4 separate regions of the Homo sapiens genome follow, and regions 2, 3 and 4 are each linked to region 1. The links are contacts of gene promoters, found by promoter capture Hi-C in blood cells and fetal thymus (Javierre and others, 2016). All regions are on one chromosome and are shown on one strand. The core of a region is centred on a gene start or on the middle of the fragment in contact, and the rest is flanking DNA. Distances in the headings are between cores, read along the strand shown.

Region 1 (4,185 bases), core at 596-3,095:
TTTGACTGGATTTTTTTTCCTGGTATCAGGCATTCTATAAGAAGTATTCTATTGGCTGGAGTTCTATACACCATCTGTCCTATATGCAGATTTTTACATTTTATATACTATAAAATAAAATAATTCAAAAGGCTTTTAAAAAACAAACAAACAAAAAAACAGAGGTCCTAAGGATTTAAAAATGTCTTACCTCTTTGGGGAAAAACGGTCCAAGTATAGAATAGCACATCATGGAACCTAAGTTCACCGAAGCTGCCGATATCAGTACAAAAACCTGTTCTCTCGAAAGCCACCCGGGGGTCTCTCCTGCACTTCCTGCAGGATCATCACCTTGAATGCAAACATGCAGCAATTAGGCATATAATTGAGACTACTGATTAAAGTACACAAATGTGATTTCTGTGCACATATGTTGCACTCTGAAGATATCATTTGCTAAGCTTAGGGCTATTTTGAATATAGCACATTTGATCAAATGGAACACAATCCTTGTACATTACTGCCGTTTTGAAAACGTACTGCTTTCGGCTGGGCACGGTGGCTCACGCCTGTAATCCCAGAACTTTGGGAGGCCGAGGCAGGCGGATCACGAGGTCAGGAGATCGAGACCATCCTGGCTAACACGGTGAAACCCCGTCTCTACTAAAAATACAAAAAATTAGCCGGGCGTGGTGGCGGGCCCCTGTATCCCAGCTACTCGGGAGGCTGAGGCAGGAGAATGGCGTGAACCCGGGAGGCGGAGCTTGCAGTGAGCCAAGATCGCACCACTGCACTCCAGCCTGGGCTACAGAGAGAGACTCCGTCTCAAAAAAGCAAAACAAAACAAACAAACAAAAACAAAAACAAAAACAAAAAACAAAGATTTCTAAGGCAGTATTGAAGTCAAATGAAGTGTAAGTAGGAGAAAACAAGCTAAATCATTCAGCTGGTGAATTAATATTTACAGCGGTATGCTTCTGGATAGACAAGTCCCACAAATTCATAAATAAATACTTTTTTTTTACCCTAATTACTGGTCTTTTACATCAGTTAATTTAACACTTATTTCCAGGGCTAAATTGTCATTTAAAAACACGAAATCAATTACTGAGTTCCAAATATCCAAGCAAATCCATCAGCCATTTATAAATTAAATTGTTTTTAGGAAAAACTTAAGAGAAATACATTTGCTTTGCTCTATTTGTCAGAGGTTGCCATTGCAGTCCAGAAGGAAAAAAAAAATCAGTGCAACATGAGGAAGTCTTACGAATCTTTGTAAAATGTTTGTAGTAGATGAGAAAGGGAAATGAAAGTTAAAAAGAAAGGCAACAACAATGGGTACTTGAAAGGTAACGTTTTACATTTGCCTAATGGCATACTTATTTGAATGCATTAAACACACAGTACTTAAAAAGCAGAGGTATAGGTTAGAAAGTCATTAGAAACCGTGACACATATCCAATCCTGGAACTTTACCCCGTCCAGAGAGAAAAGAAACGCTGGCCCGAACCCCACGATCAGGCCCCAGCCTTTTCCAATCTCTCGGAAACAGATCAAGCTATAAGCAATTCAATCGTTGCTAAAGAGACACGCCGGAAGCCGCCGCTGGTCTCCGGGCTCCCGGCCACGCAATTCATGGTCACCTCCTGGTGCGCGTGGTCCCTCCAGGTCACCCAGCGCCTCCATCCCCGGTGCGTGGACTCCGGCGCCCCAGCTCCCGGCTTCAAGCCACGTCCTTGGACTCGACCTCCAAGGAGCCACTGGCACTCTGGCGGGCGGCCGCTGCTCAGCTGGAACCTGGCATCCCCGACTCCCTGCAGGCAGCGATCCGCCCGGCCCGGAGCTCCCCAAAGCCTTCCAGGACTCTGGGTCCCCGGGAGGAGGCCGGGGGCGGGGCAGGGGTGGAGCAAGGCTCCTTTTTTTTTTGTTTTGCGCCCCCCCCCCGCCTCATTATCTTAATCCACCACCTCAGCTGCTATATCATGGTGTCCTTTTTCATTCTGTGACAGAGAGTGAAAAAAGATGAGTCTATATTCCATACAGCTGTACCCCCCTCAATCTTAAAATAAGTTCAATTTATTCCTACGAAACGAAAGAAAGGAAGCTTATGTAGACACAGAAAAGGCAGGGAGTACCTCAACTGAAAGACACAAAAGTGAATTAGAAAATTAGGTTATACAGGAACTTTGAAAGAGTGAATTATTTTTCACAGTGGGTAAATGCGGTAGTGTTCGTAATTACTGAAGCCAGACACTATTGAACCGGAAATGAATTAACCTATGTGAAGCACCTGGAGTCGAAAAATATTTGCAAGAATACTAATGAATATCGAGGAAGCATGGCGAAGTGGCTAGGAGTGCGACCTCTGGAGGCAGGTGCCAGGGATTCAAGCCAGGGCACTTGCTGGCAGTGTGTAACTTTGGATGACAAGGTCAGTTTCTCTACCTGTACAACTGAGATTATAATGTTTATCTCGTAGGGCGGCTGTGAGCATTGGCGATAAAGTGTGTTAGTAGTTAGCACATGAACATGATGGCTGCTACCTTACTCTCACACTCACAGTTTTCTTGCATAAAAAATAGGTTTCACTTATTTTCACCGTATTTACTATTTGGGAAGTGTTAAAGCTCGAGGACTGGCTGGACACGGTGGCTCATGCCTGTAATCCCAGCAGTTTGGGAGGCCGAGGTGGGCAGCTCACCTGAGGTCAGGAGTTCTAGACCAGCCCGGCCAACATGGTGAAACCCTGTCTCTACTATAAAAATACAAAAAAATCAGCCAGGCGTGGTGGCAGGCACCTGTAATCCCAGCTACTAGGGAGGCTGAGGCAGGAGAATCGTTTGAACCTGGGAGGCGGAGGTTACAGTGAGCCAAGATCCAAAAGAATTGTGTGAGGGTAGCTTTATCGACTGAGAATCTGCCTCAGATCCACTGTACAAGGTCAGTTCCAGTACACAGTATGGCTGATAGTAAGTTTGTAATTACTGTGCCACCTCATTCCAGCCTGGGTGAAAAAGCGAAACTCTGTCTCAAATAAATAAATAAAGTTTAAGGACTGGGAAATTCTTGTTTTGAAGCCAAAGCAAAACAAAAGACTGAGTTACCACTTTGTGCCAGGCATTATGAATTTAAAGAGGAATGAGCCCCATCCAGACTCTGCCCTCAAGTAGCACACCTTCTAGCAGATGAAATTCACACTAATTAATAATCTACTATAATGCAATCGGTTGTATACAAACATATTGGAAGAACCATTTACTTTGGCAAATGGGTCCTGGATGACTTCCTGAGGAAGTGATGTTACCTTGGTTCTTGAAGGTTATGTAAAAACTCCCCAGTGAGGGCCGGGCGCGGTGGCTCACGCCTGTAATCCCAGCACTTTGGGAGGCCGAGGTGGGCGGGTCACGAGGTCAGAAGTTCGAGACCTGCCTGACCAACACGGTGAAACCCCGTCTCTACAAAAATACAAAAATTAGCTGGGCATGATGGCACCCAGCTACTCAGGAGACTGAGGCAGGAGAATCGCTTGAACCTGGGACTCGGAGGTTGCAGTGAGCAGAGATCATGCCATTGCACTCCAGCCTGGGCAACCGAGCGAGACTCCATCTCAAAAAAAAAAAAAAAAAAATTCCCCAGTGGGCAAGTTGTAAAGGAGAACCTAGAGAACCACTCTGAACAGAAAGTTCCACTCTAAGCCAGGTGCTGTGGCTCACGCCTGTAATCCTAGCACTTTGGGAGGCCGAGGCAGGCAAATCACCTGAGGTCGAGAGTTTGAGACCAGGCTGACCAACATGGAGAAACCCTGTCTCTACTAAAAATACAAAATTAGCTGGGCATGGTGGCGCATGCCTGTAGTCCCAGCTACTCGGGAAGCTGAGGCAGGAGAATCGCTTGAACCTAGGAGGCAGAGGTTGTGGTGAGCCAAGACAGCACCATTGTGCTCCAGCCTGGGCAACAAGAGTGAAACTCCATCTCAAAAAAAAAAAAAAAAAAAAAAAAAGAAAAGAAAAGAAAGTTCCAATCTAGCAAAGTTTCCCTAAAGTAGCCTTATGAAATCTTTATGATCTAACCCCTGACAGCTTCTCCAATCTCATTTAACTCTATGCTTTCTCTTCAATCTAACATCAATCTGTAGAGGGAAATTTTCTTGAATGATTTCTTTGATGATTACATTTCCTCTTTTATTTTCTTTCTGGACTGCACTTT
Region 2 (4,185 bases), core at 791-3,290, 500 kb before region 1:
GAGAAAAGACAATGCTTATACATTGTTGGTGGGGATGTAAATTAGTTCAGCCAACTGTGGAAGCAGTTTGTAGATTTCTCAAAGAACTTAAAACAGAACTACCATTCAACCCAGTAATCCTATTACTAGCTATACACCCAAAGGAAAATAAATAGTTCTACCAAAAAGACCACATGCATTTGTATGTTCATCATAGCACTATTCACAATAGCAAAGACATGGAATCAACCAAGGTGTCCATCAAAGGTGGACTAGATAAAGAAAATGTGGTACATATACACCATGGAATACTATGTAGCCACACAAAAAAAGAAAGAAATCATGTCCTTTGCAGCAGCATGGGTGCATCTGGAGGCCATCATCCTAAGTGAATTACACAGGAACAGAAAACCAAAAACCGCGTGTTCTCACATATAAGTGGGATCTAATCATTGAATACACATAGACATAAAGATGGGAAAAACAGACACTGGGAACTACTAGAGAGAGAGGGAGAGAGGGAGACAAGAATGAAAAAACTACCTGTTGGGTGCCTGGCTCACTACCTGGGTGATGGAATCATTCATACTCTAAACCTCAGTTTCACACAATATACCATTGTAACAAACCTAAACATGCATCCCTTGAACCTAAAATAAAAGTTGAAATTTTAAAAATGTACTGAGAAAAAAAATACCCTATATAGAATACACTCTGCCTTCACCTGCCACTCCAAAAATCACATGCCAAATATTCAAGAAAGGAAAAAGAAATCACAAGAATGACATGAGCAGACAGAAGAAGTGACAGAAAAAGTGAAGTGAAAAAGTGAATGACATAACTTGCTTGAAAAGATAGTTTTCAGGTGTTGTCTTTCATTAAATATAAGTTTTATATTATTGATTCCTGAAAAAGGGAAAAGTGTAAGTGCTGGCATGTCACAAAATTTTACATTAATCCATGGACCTTGCAGGAAATTATCATGGTGACTAGAAAGTATCTGGCACTCATAACATCCCAAGATGTTACAGTAATTTCTATAATTATCAAATAATCTCAGCTGAAGAATATACATTAATCTTCATATTTTTAAAATTTATTTATGTCATTTCTCTCTCCCTCTCTCTCTCTCTCTCTCTCTCTTAACATACATAACCCACTCAGGCACATTGAATATCATCTTTTTAAGTAAATTAAAAGTTCCTTATTAATTTCTTGGAGTTATAAAGATAATTTTTTATGTCTAAATTTGAAATATTTCTTCCATATCTAATAAGTGAGACAATGAGGAAAATAGGTAATATATATAGATCTTTACATTTTTCATAATTTCCTTTAATTAGAATCAATATATATCTTTGTTGAGTTTTAAATGCATTATTTTATACAAAGACCTTAAAGTGAAGCCCCATAAAGTAAGAGCAATCAGCATTGCATTACATAAACATACCTAGCAATGGCCTAAAATCTATAGCATTTGAAAATTAAACATATTGTGACAATTTTGTAGAGACACAATCCAGAATTAGTATCAAGCAAAAACTTGACTTGAAAGAAGTTATTATATTTGCATACAATGTCCTTTTAAAAGCACTAAAAGCTACAGCTATTGATCATTTTAAGTCAATTATTAAAAATAAAATTTACTTTTCAAAAAGATAAAATGCCTAATTTGAAAAAGAGAAAATCAATTTTATAACCAGATAAATGCTAGGGGAAAATCATCAGTCTGTAACCATCTGAAACACCACAAGGTGGCACGACAGCTTTACTATGGTGCTTAGGTTGCCTAAAGCCTCTGGTGCCCCGCTGTTAAGAGTGAATAGTGTGACCATTATACACAGATGAAATCTTAAAAAGCTTTGCTGCTATAATAATTTACTAAATTGCCTATTATTGAGATTGTCCAACATAAAGTGACAGAAGAGGTGTAACCCCATTTGTCAGTTTTTAGAACAGATATGTAGAAAGGCCAAGCCCAATGGCGCGTATGTTGGAGACAGAATGACTGAGGCTGGGTGACCTGGGGATGTGGTCATCAACCTTTCTGAGATGGCATCTTTGTCTCATATTTATCATCTCCTTTCCACTCCCACTAACTTGGTTTAGGCCCCTGTTCTATAATAACTTTATACTAATAAACATCCTACTTGTCATCTCTAACCTTTCTAGCCTATCCTACACACTTCCAAATTATTTCCTAGAGAAAAGAGCAGACAGAAAAAGTGAATATTTATCCTGAATACTTTTTTTCAAAAAGACTAAGCTTTAAACCAGGTAACCTTAAAGTAGCAAGTATTTCTGCTTTTACTGGGATTAGGGATTAGTTGGAAATAATTGGGAATGTTACAGAAATAAAAAGTTACATTTCTGCATATCTTGTCAGTGTGTAAATGTCTCTCCATACATACATGTAAACGAATGGTATTATATATATATATATATATATATATTACTGTAGTCAATAAAAAACAGTGTTATTATTATGCTTTAATATTGATGGGTAATTTTCCTTTGTAAATTCCATCTAAACTCTGAGACATGTTTTTCTAAGAAGATAGCAAAGTTGACTGCAATACACCATGGTAGAGTAATTTTTTAAATTTTTAAGTGGAACATAAAGCTATTTATTCTTATAAATTCAAACTGATCAATGGAAATTTTAAAAGTTTAATGATTTTTATACTTGGTCCCTCTGTTCTATATAAATTGAAAAGCAGATGGAGAAAAATAATCTGTGGTTACATTTCTTATCTGAGCCTCTCTGGACTCCTGTTTTAAAAGTTTTATTGCTAATGTCTTTCTCGGGGTAGAGAAGGAGAAGGAAGGAAGAGAGATGGAAGATTTAACCAAGAAACAAAGTCCATGTACTTATAGCTAAATGAACTATATTACACACTCTCCATCCATCAAGCAAGTAAACATGTGATCAAAAACTAGCAAAAGGAACAAAAATTCATTAACAGACTTCCACTTTTGGCCATGTTGGAGTAACTGACACTAACTTCCTGTAAAAAACTCAAAATTCGACAAACCATATGAAACAGCTGGTTTGGACATTGGAAAATAGCACAGAACTATGATCCCCAAAAGGAAGGAAACAAATAAGGTGTTTGAATATTATGTTCATCCCAGCTTTCTGCCTAGAAGCATTCTCTGAACCAGAATGCAGGAAAGGGAATTTCGAAACAGAAAATGACGATCTCAATAAGTTAAGGAGATGAAGACCAGAGTTAAGGGAGTCTGAAGAAGCTTACATATTCAAGGTAGACTACTGCAGAGGAAAAATTTGTATAAGGATCCTCTGAGTCAGTAACTAAGCAATAAGCCAACTATATTTAGGGTAAAATCCACAAGACTGGGCAATGAACAACTAGAAGATTGTGACCTAAACAATTCCCAGAGCCTGTATAGAGCTAGCAGACATTTGAGCTCAAACTAGCCAGAGTGGAATGTCTCTGTTGACTACACGGAGTAAACATCTATTCTAGACTCACGCTAACAAGGTTCTTTAAAGAAATAAAAACAACCTAGTACTAATTAACAGAATGTGCATAATGTCCTGTTGTCTATGTCTAGTCAAAAAATTATTAAACACATCAACAAGTATGTAAATGTGAATCTAAACTAGAAGAAAAAATCAGTCAATACTCCAAGATCTTGAAATGACAGAGATTAAAGAATTAGCAGACAAGGATAACTAAAACTTAAAAAAACATATTATTAACAAAACATGCGCAAAACTTCTATATTGAAAACCACAAAAAAGTGCTTAGAGAAATGAAAGAACAGTAAATAAGTGAAGAGGCATACCATGTTCATAGATTAGAAGACTCAATATTGTTAAGGTATCAATTCTCTCAAATTGTCTAGAAATTCAGTATAATCCCAATCAAATCCCAGCAGGTCCTTTTTAAAAATGAAATTGACAAGTTGATTTAAATATATGTATGAAAATAGAATAAACCTAGACTATCAAAATAATTTTGGGAAAAAATGACAAAGTTTTGGAGACCTACATTTAAGACTTCCTATAAAACTATAATAATTAAATGTGGTTTTAGAGTAAGGCTAAACATATAGAGCAATGAAACAGAATAGAAAATCCAGAAAGAACCAATATATGGACAAATGATTTTCCAACAAATATTCCAAAGTAATTCAATAGTAAAAAGGTAGTTTTCTTTCATCAAATGGTTCTTGCAC
Region 3 (4,185 bases), core at 506-3,005, 440 kb before region 1:
AGTCTACCAGGCTCCAGGCTGGTACTGGGGTTTGTCTGCACAGAGCCCTGTGATGTGAACTGTCTATGGGCCTCTCAGCCATTGATACCAGCACCTGTTCCAGTGGAGGTGGCAGGGAGATGAAATGGGCTCTGTGAGGGTTCTTACCTTTGGTGATTTAAAGTTCTATTTTTGTGCTGGTTGGCGTCCTGCCAGGAGGTGGCACTTTCCAGAGAGCATCAGCTGTGGTGGTACGAAGAGGAAGTGGTGGTGGGCGGGGCCCTAGAACTCCCAAGAGTATATAGCGTTTGTCTTCAGCTACCAGGGTGGGTAGGGAAGGCCCATCAGGTGGGGGCAGGGCTAGGTGTGTCTGAGCTCAGACTCTCCTTGGAAGGGTCTTGCTGCAGCTGCTGTGGGGAATGGGGGTGAGGTTCCCAGGTCAATGGAGTCATCTACCTAGGAGGATCATGGCTGCTTCTGCTGAGTCATGCAGGTTGCCAGGGAAGTAGGGGAAAACCAACAGTCACAGGCCTCACTCAGCTCCCACACAATCTGAAGGGCTGGTCTCCCTCCCATCATGCCCCTCCCCCAACATCCTGTTTCCAGGCAGTAGATGAGCACGGCTTGAGAACTTGCCCCAGACTAGCCACTTCCCAGGTGCAGAAGAAAAAGGATTTGGTTCTTCCCTCACCCGTGGAGTCTGCACACCAGATTCGTGCCCTTCCCCAGGTTCTGGCCAGGAGGCTTCTTGCTGGATTCAAATTGTTACAAAGTTCAGCTGGGGACTTCCTTCTCCCTGTGGCATTTTACCCTGTGCCTCTGGTCACCCTCCCAAAAGATCCCTGTGGTACCAAGCAGGGATGGCATGCTTAGGGACCCAGTGAGCTCCCAGGTCCTTTCCCACTGCTTCCTCTATCCCTGTATTTTGCTCAGCTCTCTAAATTGACTCAACTCCAGGTAAGGTCAGAAAGTTCTCCCACAAACTAGACCTTCAGGGGTTGGAGTCTATCACCATTCTCCGGTATGTAGGCTGGGCCTGCTTCTTATGGCAGGAGCAATGGCGTGCTAATCCCAAACCAAGCCTCAAGTGGCCTTACAGTTTCTACTCTCTCTTTTGGAACTGTGCCATCACCATTTGAACAAGCCCAGTCTAGACTTCTAGAGAACAAGATACTATAAAGGAGAGCCCACTTGTTCAGCTGAGGCCTCCTAGACCTGCTTACAACCAGCTGACTCCCAACAAGAAGAGAGAGCCCAGGCACTATTAGAAAGCTGCATACCCAACCCAAGCTGGTTACATACCTGTTTGTAGCCCAGCTACAAACAGAAGAACCACCAAGCTGACTTGTAAACTATAACATGTGCTTCTTCATTTAAAGCTTATTTAAAGTTGTTGAACTTTGGGTTGGTTTGGTTCACAGAAATAGCTAACCAATAAAAATGAATAAAAAATTCTGGTATGTTCAGAAAATGAAATTCAAAGATGAAAATGAACACATTATTTTCTACAAACAACATGGCCAACTTGCACATCCCGTTCGGCAAAAAAAGCCAGACACAGAAGAGCACTAGCGTTTCTGTCTACCTACAAAAAATTCACAACAGGCAAAATTAGTAAAGAGTGATTTAAGTCAGCAAACTGGTGACCTCTGGGGACAGACAGTACCTGGGAGGGGACGCAAAGGACGCTTCTGAGTTGATACTCTATTCTTGATCTTGATTCTGGTTTCATGAGTCAGTTCACCTTATGAAAATTCAATGAGTTTTATACTGTTTGTGCACTTTTATCTAGGCAATTCAATAAAAGAATGTTTTAAAAAGAAATCGGTAAAGGGTTGAACAGCAAACTGACAGAAGAGAGCATAAAAAGAGCATAAGCCTCACTAGTAGTCTAAGGAAAGCAAGCCAAAGCAATCAGAAATATTAGTTTTCATCCATTAACAGGCAATAAATTTAAAAGACTAAAATATCCAGTGCTCAAGAAGGGATGAGAAAATATTCACATACAGCTAGTGTGTGAATTTTATAAAGTAATCTGACAAATATATTAAAGTTTGAAATACATGTAATCTTGATTCAATCCATTTAGCAATCTAGCGTATAGGAATGAAACCACCAATACATAACGATATACTTACAAGAACATTTACTGAAGCAATGTTTATGGTAGCAAAAAGCTTACAACATCTTGAATGTGCATCAAAAGTGTATGGCTGCAAAAATTATGGTTTATACATAATAGGAGATTAAATTATGTAAACATTAAAAATAATGTGTTATAATATTTTGTCCAGTAATGATGAGGGCATTAATTTGAAAAGCAAAATTCAAAGTAATAGATATAGAGTGATCCTAATTTGTTTACAAATAAAAGAGATTAACCCAAAAAAATCCTATATAAATGTTGTAAATGTTTTCTTCAGCATAAAGTTTTAGAAAAATACAAATAAATCTGTTAGCATTAGTCACCTCAGGAAAGTAGAATTTGGAGAAAGAGGGCACTACTACTTTTTATTTTATATATTTTTTACTTTTTTACTTATTATGAGAAGTATATATTACACTGGAAATGAAACAAATACACGTTAGAAAATATTCTCATATTAGAAAATAAAGTGTTCTCTAGAGAAAAAAACTCCTTAATCTTTCAAATGATGAGAGATAAAAACTCAACAGTTGTGACCTCTTTGCAAGATTGTTAAAAGCCAGTCCAGAAGCACATCATATCACATATGAATTTTATCTGATTATTAATTCAAGCTGAAGAAGAAATAAATTATCCCATAAAATATCTCTTAGCACTTGGAGTAAATATAGTTTGAAAAAAATGTGACTGAACTAACAATCTTTTGGAAAATTCTATTTGCTATATGAGTGGAAAATATTACTCAGAGTACTGACATTTCCTGTTTACCACTGAAAAAAGAACTTAGTTCTCTAACCTTGTAAATGTAATTCAACTGTGAATCTTACAAACACTTACAATAAGAGTTTGCCTTACTAAACAAATCAGGTTCATCTGGCAGTCCAGTTCTTAAAGGAACTAAACTTTATCTTAAAAGGAAGTATAGAAATAAAAAGGAAAGATAGTAAAAGTAATGAATTCCAAGTTATAAAGGAACTAATATACCATATAAAAATCTAGTTAAATATAAATATTTCAATTTTTCCCTCTTTTAAATGTCTCAGAAAAGTCAATGAAATCAAAGTGAGTGTCCAGCTGTTCTAAATTACTGGATAATAATATCCAAGTAATTTAGAGCTTTTTGAAAAGCTTTAAAAATTATTTAATTATAGATAGTTAAGAGATGATAAAATGGAGATATAAATCTTAGGTGTATTTTTTGCTTTGAAATTGTTTTATATTTCATATTTTGAAGGAGAGATAGAGATAAGTAATAAAAATTTATGACCTAAATTTCAATCTCAATTTCAATTAATTAACTGGATGAGAAAGGCAGTTTTTTCCTCTGGACTTCATTTTCTGCAACCATGAAATAAAATGTTGACAAAAGCAAACAGAAGGTTTAGACTGTTAGAGGAAAGAAGGATTACTATAAAATGACAATATTTCACATCTATTGTGCCTCAGGTGTTCCATAAACATTTTCCAAATAACTTTACAGTAGTATTGTGATAGGTCATATCTCCATTTTGCCAATGGGAAAACGGATTCAGAAAAGTTCTGTAAATTACTCAAGGTCATATAAGTGGTAAATGGTAGAGCCCGGATTTGAAATCAGGTCTATGTGACCAGAAAGACAGGAAGGGCCCTTCAAGCTTAGGTTCATATAGGTTAAATAAAGTGTTAAAGCTCCCCCTACTAGACTAAATAAATGGTGTTCATAATACACGTACTAATAACACCTATGTGTGTAGCACATTTGCACTGAAAAGAGTTCAACACAGTAATTCAGATCTCAGGCATTAGAATTAAACAAGGCTAGGTTCCCACTCTATGTTTACCACATCTCGCTCCATGACATTAGAGATGACATTACATTTTTCTGAGCCTGTTTTCTCATCTAGAAAATGGCAGAGGTAGTAAGTAAAGCACAGTGTTTGGTACATGATGAGCAATCCATAAATACTTGTCTTCTAAAATTCAATATTTTAAAAGCATTTTCAAAGTAATCTTGAGAAGATATGAATTGTTATTTTTATGTTATATATGGGTATATACTAACACCAAAATCATAAAAGTTA
Region 4 (4,185 bases), core at 1,007-3,506, 270 kb before region 1:
TGTATTTGTATTTTTGAGGGCTATTGTCTGGAGTTTTTGCTTGTCTTTTTCTTATAATGTTTTTGCCTGGTTTCAGCATCATGACAATGCTGATCTCATATAAATGGAATGTGTCCCCTCCTTTTCTATTTTCTGAAAAAGATTTTGTAGGATTGGCTTTATTTTGTCCTTAAATATCAGGAGGATTCACCAGTGAAACCATATGGGCCTTACTTTATATGTTTTTAAAGACTTTTAACTATACAGCACATTCATTACATATAGGACCATTCAGTTGATCTATCTCTTCTTGAGTGAGTTTTGGTAGTTTGTTTCTTTTAAGAGGTTTGTCCATTTCATCTAAGTTGTTGAATTTATATGTACAGGGTTGTTTGTAGCATTCCCCATTCTCTCTTTGATGTGTCAGGATCAGTAGTAATATTCTTTCTTCTATTTCTGATACTGTAATTTGCATCTTCTCTCTTTTTATCTCTTAGCCTGGAAACAGGTTTATTAATACTATCGATTTTTTTAAACTTTTGGTTCCATTGATTTTTTTTCTATTATTTTTTGGTTTTCAATTTTACTTAGTTTTGTCCTAATATTTATTTCCTTCCTTCTACTTGCTTTAAGTTTAATTTGCTCCTTTTTTCTCTTGTTTCTTAAGCTGGAAGCTTAAGTTACTGACTTGAGATCTTTCTTCTTTTCTTATGTAAGCATTTACTGCTATATATTTTCATTTAAGTACTGATTTAGCTGCGTCACACACATTTTGATATGTTGGAATTTTTACTTTCATTTCATTCAAACTATTTTTTAAATAACCCTTAAGACACCCTCTTGACCCATGGTGATTTTTAGAAATGTATTGTTTAATTTTCCAAATATTTGAGGTGTTTAAGATAATTTTATTTTATTAATATTTGGTATATTTTTATGGTCAGAAAACATACTTTGTATGATTTATATTCTTTTAAATTTGTTAAGTTTTGTTTGCTGGCCCAGAATATGATCAATGAGTATTTCATGTACACTACAAAAGAAAGAGTAATATTGCTGTTGGGTGGAATATTTTATAAGTGTAAATTAGTTCAAGTTAGTTGGTAGTGTTTGGGGGATTTTGCTGATATTCTCCCTACTTATTTCATCAATTACTAAGAGAGGAGGGTTGAAGTCTCCAACTAGAACTGTAAATTTCTCTACTTTTTCTTTCATATCTTTCAGGATTTTCCCTATGTGTTTTGAAGTTCTGTTGTTATATGTAAACACTTTTAGGATTGTTATGTCTTCCTGATGAATTGACCCCTTTATTATTATATAGTACCCCTCTTTATCTCTAATAATAATCCTTATCTTGACATCTATTTTGTTTGAAGTTATTGTAGCTACTTCAGATTTCATTTGATTCAGTTTGATATGATCTATCTTCATCTTTTTATGTTTGTCCTATCCATGCCTTTACATTACAAGTGAGTATTTTGTAGACAGCAGAGTTGTGTCTTGTTTTTTTATTCTGTTTTAAATTCTTTGTCTTTCAACTAGTATGTATAGATCATTTAAATTTAAGGTTATTGACAATTTGAATTAAAATCTACCATCTCTCTAGCTGTTGTCTGTTCTATTTTTATTTTTCCTCTTTTTCTTTCTTTCCTGGGTTTTATCAGGAATTTTTAAATGATTCTATTTTATCTTCTCTATTGACTTATTATGTGTATTCCTCCTAAAAATTATTTTTACCTCTTTAAAAAATTAACCTAAATCTACTTTCAAATGAGGTATTTGCAAGGACATTATAACAGTATATTCCCAAATCCTTCTTCTCATTTCTTCTGCTATTGTTATACAGAAAACAATATTGTATGGTTTTGTATGTATGTAGAGTATTGTTATACTCTCAAAGTCATTCATCTTTTAGAGTAACTTAAAATAAGAGAAAAAAATTTTATTTTACCTTTACATATTCCATTTCTAAATCTCTTCAGTTCTTTGTGTAGAGCCAGGTCTATGACCTGTATCATATTCCTTCTATCCAAATAATTGTTTTTCTACTTTGAGTGAAAAGGGCAAGAAAAGCAAGAACCTTAAAGAAGATGATTTGTATTTATGGCACAAACATTTACAATGTCTTATTAAAATCATAAACAAAGTGAAAGAGAATGACAAATGAAGAGAAAATGCCTGCAAGCTCTAATACAAATGTTTTACATCCTGTTATAAAGTATAAGATAGACAAACCTCCTGTGGTAGATGTTATTGACACCTCAGCCAGGTTCTCTTTGACTGCCTCAGTAACCAATCCATAGTTGCTGTGAGTAATCAGCTAAGCACCAATCACAGCTACCTTCTACTCTAGAAAATTGCCCTTGGCCCAAGGGAGCTGCCCCACCCAGAGTCAATATGCGCTGACTCCCCCCAACCTCAACCAATGACAAATTGACATCAGTCCCTGGACTTACGTTGGAATTAATTCTGTGGTGCAACTTGTGCTCCAGAGCTTCCCTGTGGGATCCAACCAAAAGTCTCCAGCCAAGACCACAGTCTTTCTCAGAACATGCTGTGGAACCAACTTCTCTTACTGCCCTTCTCCTGTGAGAATTCTTTCCAAATTCTCCATTCTGAGCCCAAGTTTCTGCTTCTAGAGAAACCAAACCAAGACACCACACTAGAAAACTTAGTAAAAGCTCATAATAGACAATTCACAGAAGTCTTAGTCCAAGTGTCTTGAAAAATAGAGCCTAAGGCAAAACTTTACTTACTAAGGTTTTACAGTAATCCTACAGTAGCAAGAGCAAAGTGTTACAACAAGTTTAGCCTAAAGCTGCCTCCTTATGTATTTTAAGTTCAGCCTAAAGGTTTCTCCGTACATCGTGAACTACAAACAAGTGGAGGTACAGATCATAGCCTACACTTGTACCAATCACTGAGTTTTGGCCAAATGTAGCCAACTGTTTGAACCGTGTTCAGTTAAGGCAAATGCGGGGCTGTCACCAATCCAGCTGTTTTTGTGCTTACTCCTATCTTCTGTATGTCACTTTCCTTTTTTCTGTCCATAAATCTTCTTCCTCTATGTGGCTGCACTGGAGTCTCAGAATTTACTCTAGTTTGGGAGGCTGCCCAGTTCATGAATCTTCTTGGCTCAATCAAATTCCTTTAAATTTAATTTGGCTGAAGTTTTTCTTTTATCAGATGGCATCAGAAATTGGATCTAAAGTAGAGCTTCTAACGACCCCCATGAGCACTGCGTGACCAAGGGAGGTACCCGCTGGACCCATTGTGTCTGTTGCTCTCTCAGAGCAGCTAGAGAATATGGTTAAGTTCTCGCTCGGATTCTGAGGCTCCACAGATTTGTGTTTTGAACACTCTGAGTTTCTTTGAGCAAATTTCTGATCCAAGCTGGATTTGGAAGTCGCGACAGACACTGGACTGGGTCCAAGATCAGAATGGATCCCGTAATTAACTGGCTTGGATCCAGTTAGAGGTCTCTCACATCTGACTCAGTCAGAAAGAAACTGGTAGTAAATGGCATAATTGCAGGGGGTGTAAAATTTGGCTTTTGGAAATTTGCAGGGATTTTTGTGTTCTACCCCTTTGTTTCATTTTTCTTGTGCGCTTAAATAGGAAAAGAAATGAGTGGCTAAGTTGGTCAAGGGAACCTGAGAAAGCCCAATATTTCAGGTAAAAATGGGATCTTTAATTTCTGAAGAACTGAATTCCTTCCAGCTTACACATTAGGCCCCGGAAGAAGCAGAGTCTTACAGAAATGGCAAAATCTTACTAAAGATAACTTACAGTAGAACGTTCCAAATAACACTGCACTGAAGTGCATTTGAAAATGTGGGCTCCCAAATTAGTCTCATCTATAGATGCCTGTTGATATGCAGAAGCTTCTAATAAAAGCTCAATTTTTTATTTAAAGACTTTACAAAAGCCAAATAAAAAGGTTAAGCAACTGATTTTTTAAAAACTCAAATCTACTAACCTTTTGGCTTAGTTACTATGTCAATCCAAAGGATATAGACTGCAGCACCAATTGGCTGACTTCGGGTAAGTAGTGGGGTACATTTTGCCTGGAAACCTGTATGGGTTTGGGTTCAAGGCCCAACTTAGGAAAGTCAGAGTCCCTGGTAAGATGTAGGGGGTTAGAGGCTCTCCCCTCAGTAAAATCCCTCTTTGTTAAAAGTGGATTTGGCACTATAGGGTGTTAAT

The links. Contacts are between HindIII fragments. The CHiCAGO score rates a contact against its expected background, and 5 or more counts as called.
Region 2: a fragment that was not itself captured here is called in contact with the fragment with the promoter of SLC18B1 in region 1 in 1 of 17 cell types (total B cells); the score reaches 5.4 in total B cells.
Region 3: a fragment that was not itself captured here is called in contact with the fragment with the promoter of SLC18B1 in region 1 in 1 of 17 cell types (total B cells); the score reaches 6.0 in total B cells.
Region 4: a contact is called between a fragment that was not itself captured here and the fragment with the promoter of SLC18B1 in region 1, in 17 of 17 cell types (neutrophils, monocytes, M0 macrophages and 14 more). The highest score is 13.1, in neutrophils.

Annotation. Positions count from the first base shown.
Region 1 is chr6:132,796,792-132,800,976 of GRCh38, forward strand. It overlaps SLC18B1 (solute carrier family 18 member B1), which reads right to left and starts at 1,846. Exons shown (of 14, transcript NM_052831.3): 1 at 1,623-1,846; 2 at 191-330. The coding sequence starts at 1,665. RefSeq lists an enhancer at 132-632 and a silencer at 1,864-1,913. The HindIII fragment of the contact is 1,643 bases long and covers 439-2,081 here.
Region 2 is chr6:132,298,792-132,302,976 of GRCh38, forward strand. All of the region lies in intron 10 of MOXD1 (monooxygenase DBH like 1), which reads right to left. Among named protein-coding and RNA genes, the nearest start is that of MOXD1, 100 kb to the right of the region's middle. The HindIII fragment of the contact is 406 bases long and covers 1,838-2,243 here.
Region 3 is chr6:132,354,446-132,358,630 of GRCh38, forward strand. The region is part of intron 4 of MOXD1 (monooxygenase DBH like 1); the gene reads right to left. Among named protein-coding and RNA genes, the nearest start is that of MOXD1, 45 kb to the right of the region's middle. RefSeq lists an enhancer at 1-1,125. The HindIII fragment of the contact is 798 bases long and covers 1,357-2,154 here.
Region 4 is chr6:132,521,792-132,525,976 of GRCh38, forward strand. No RefSeq gene overlaps it. Among named protein-coding and RNA genes, the nearest start is that of STX7, 11 kb to the left of the region's middle. The HindIII fragment of the contact is 3,210 bases long and covers 652-3,861 here.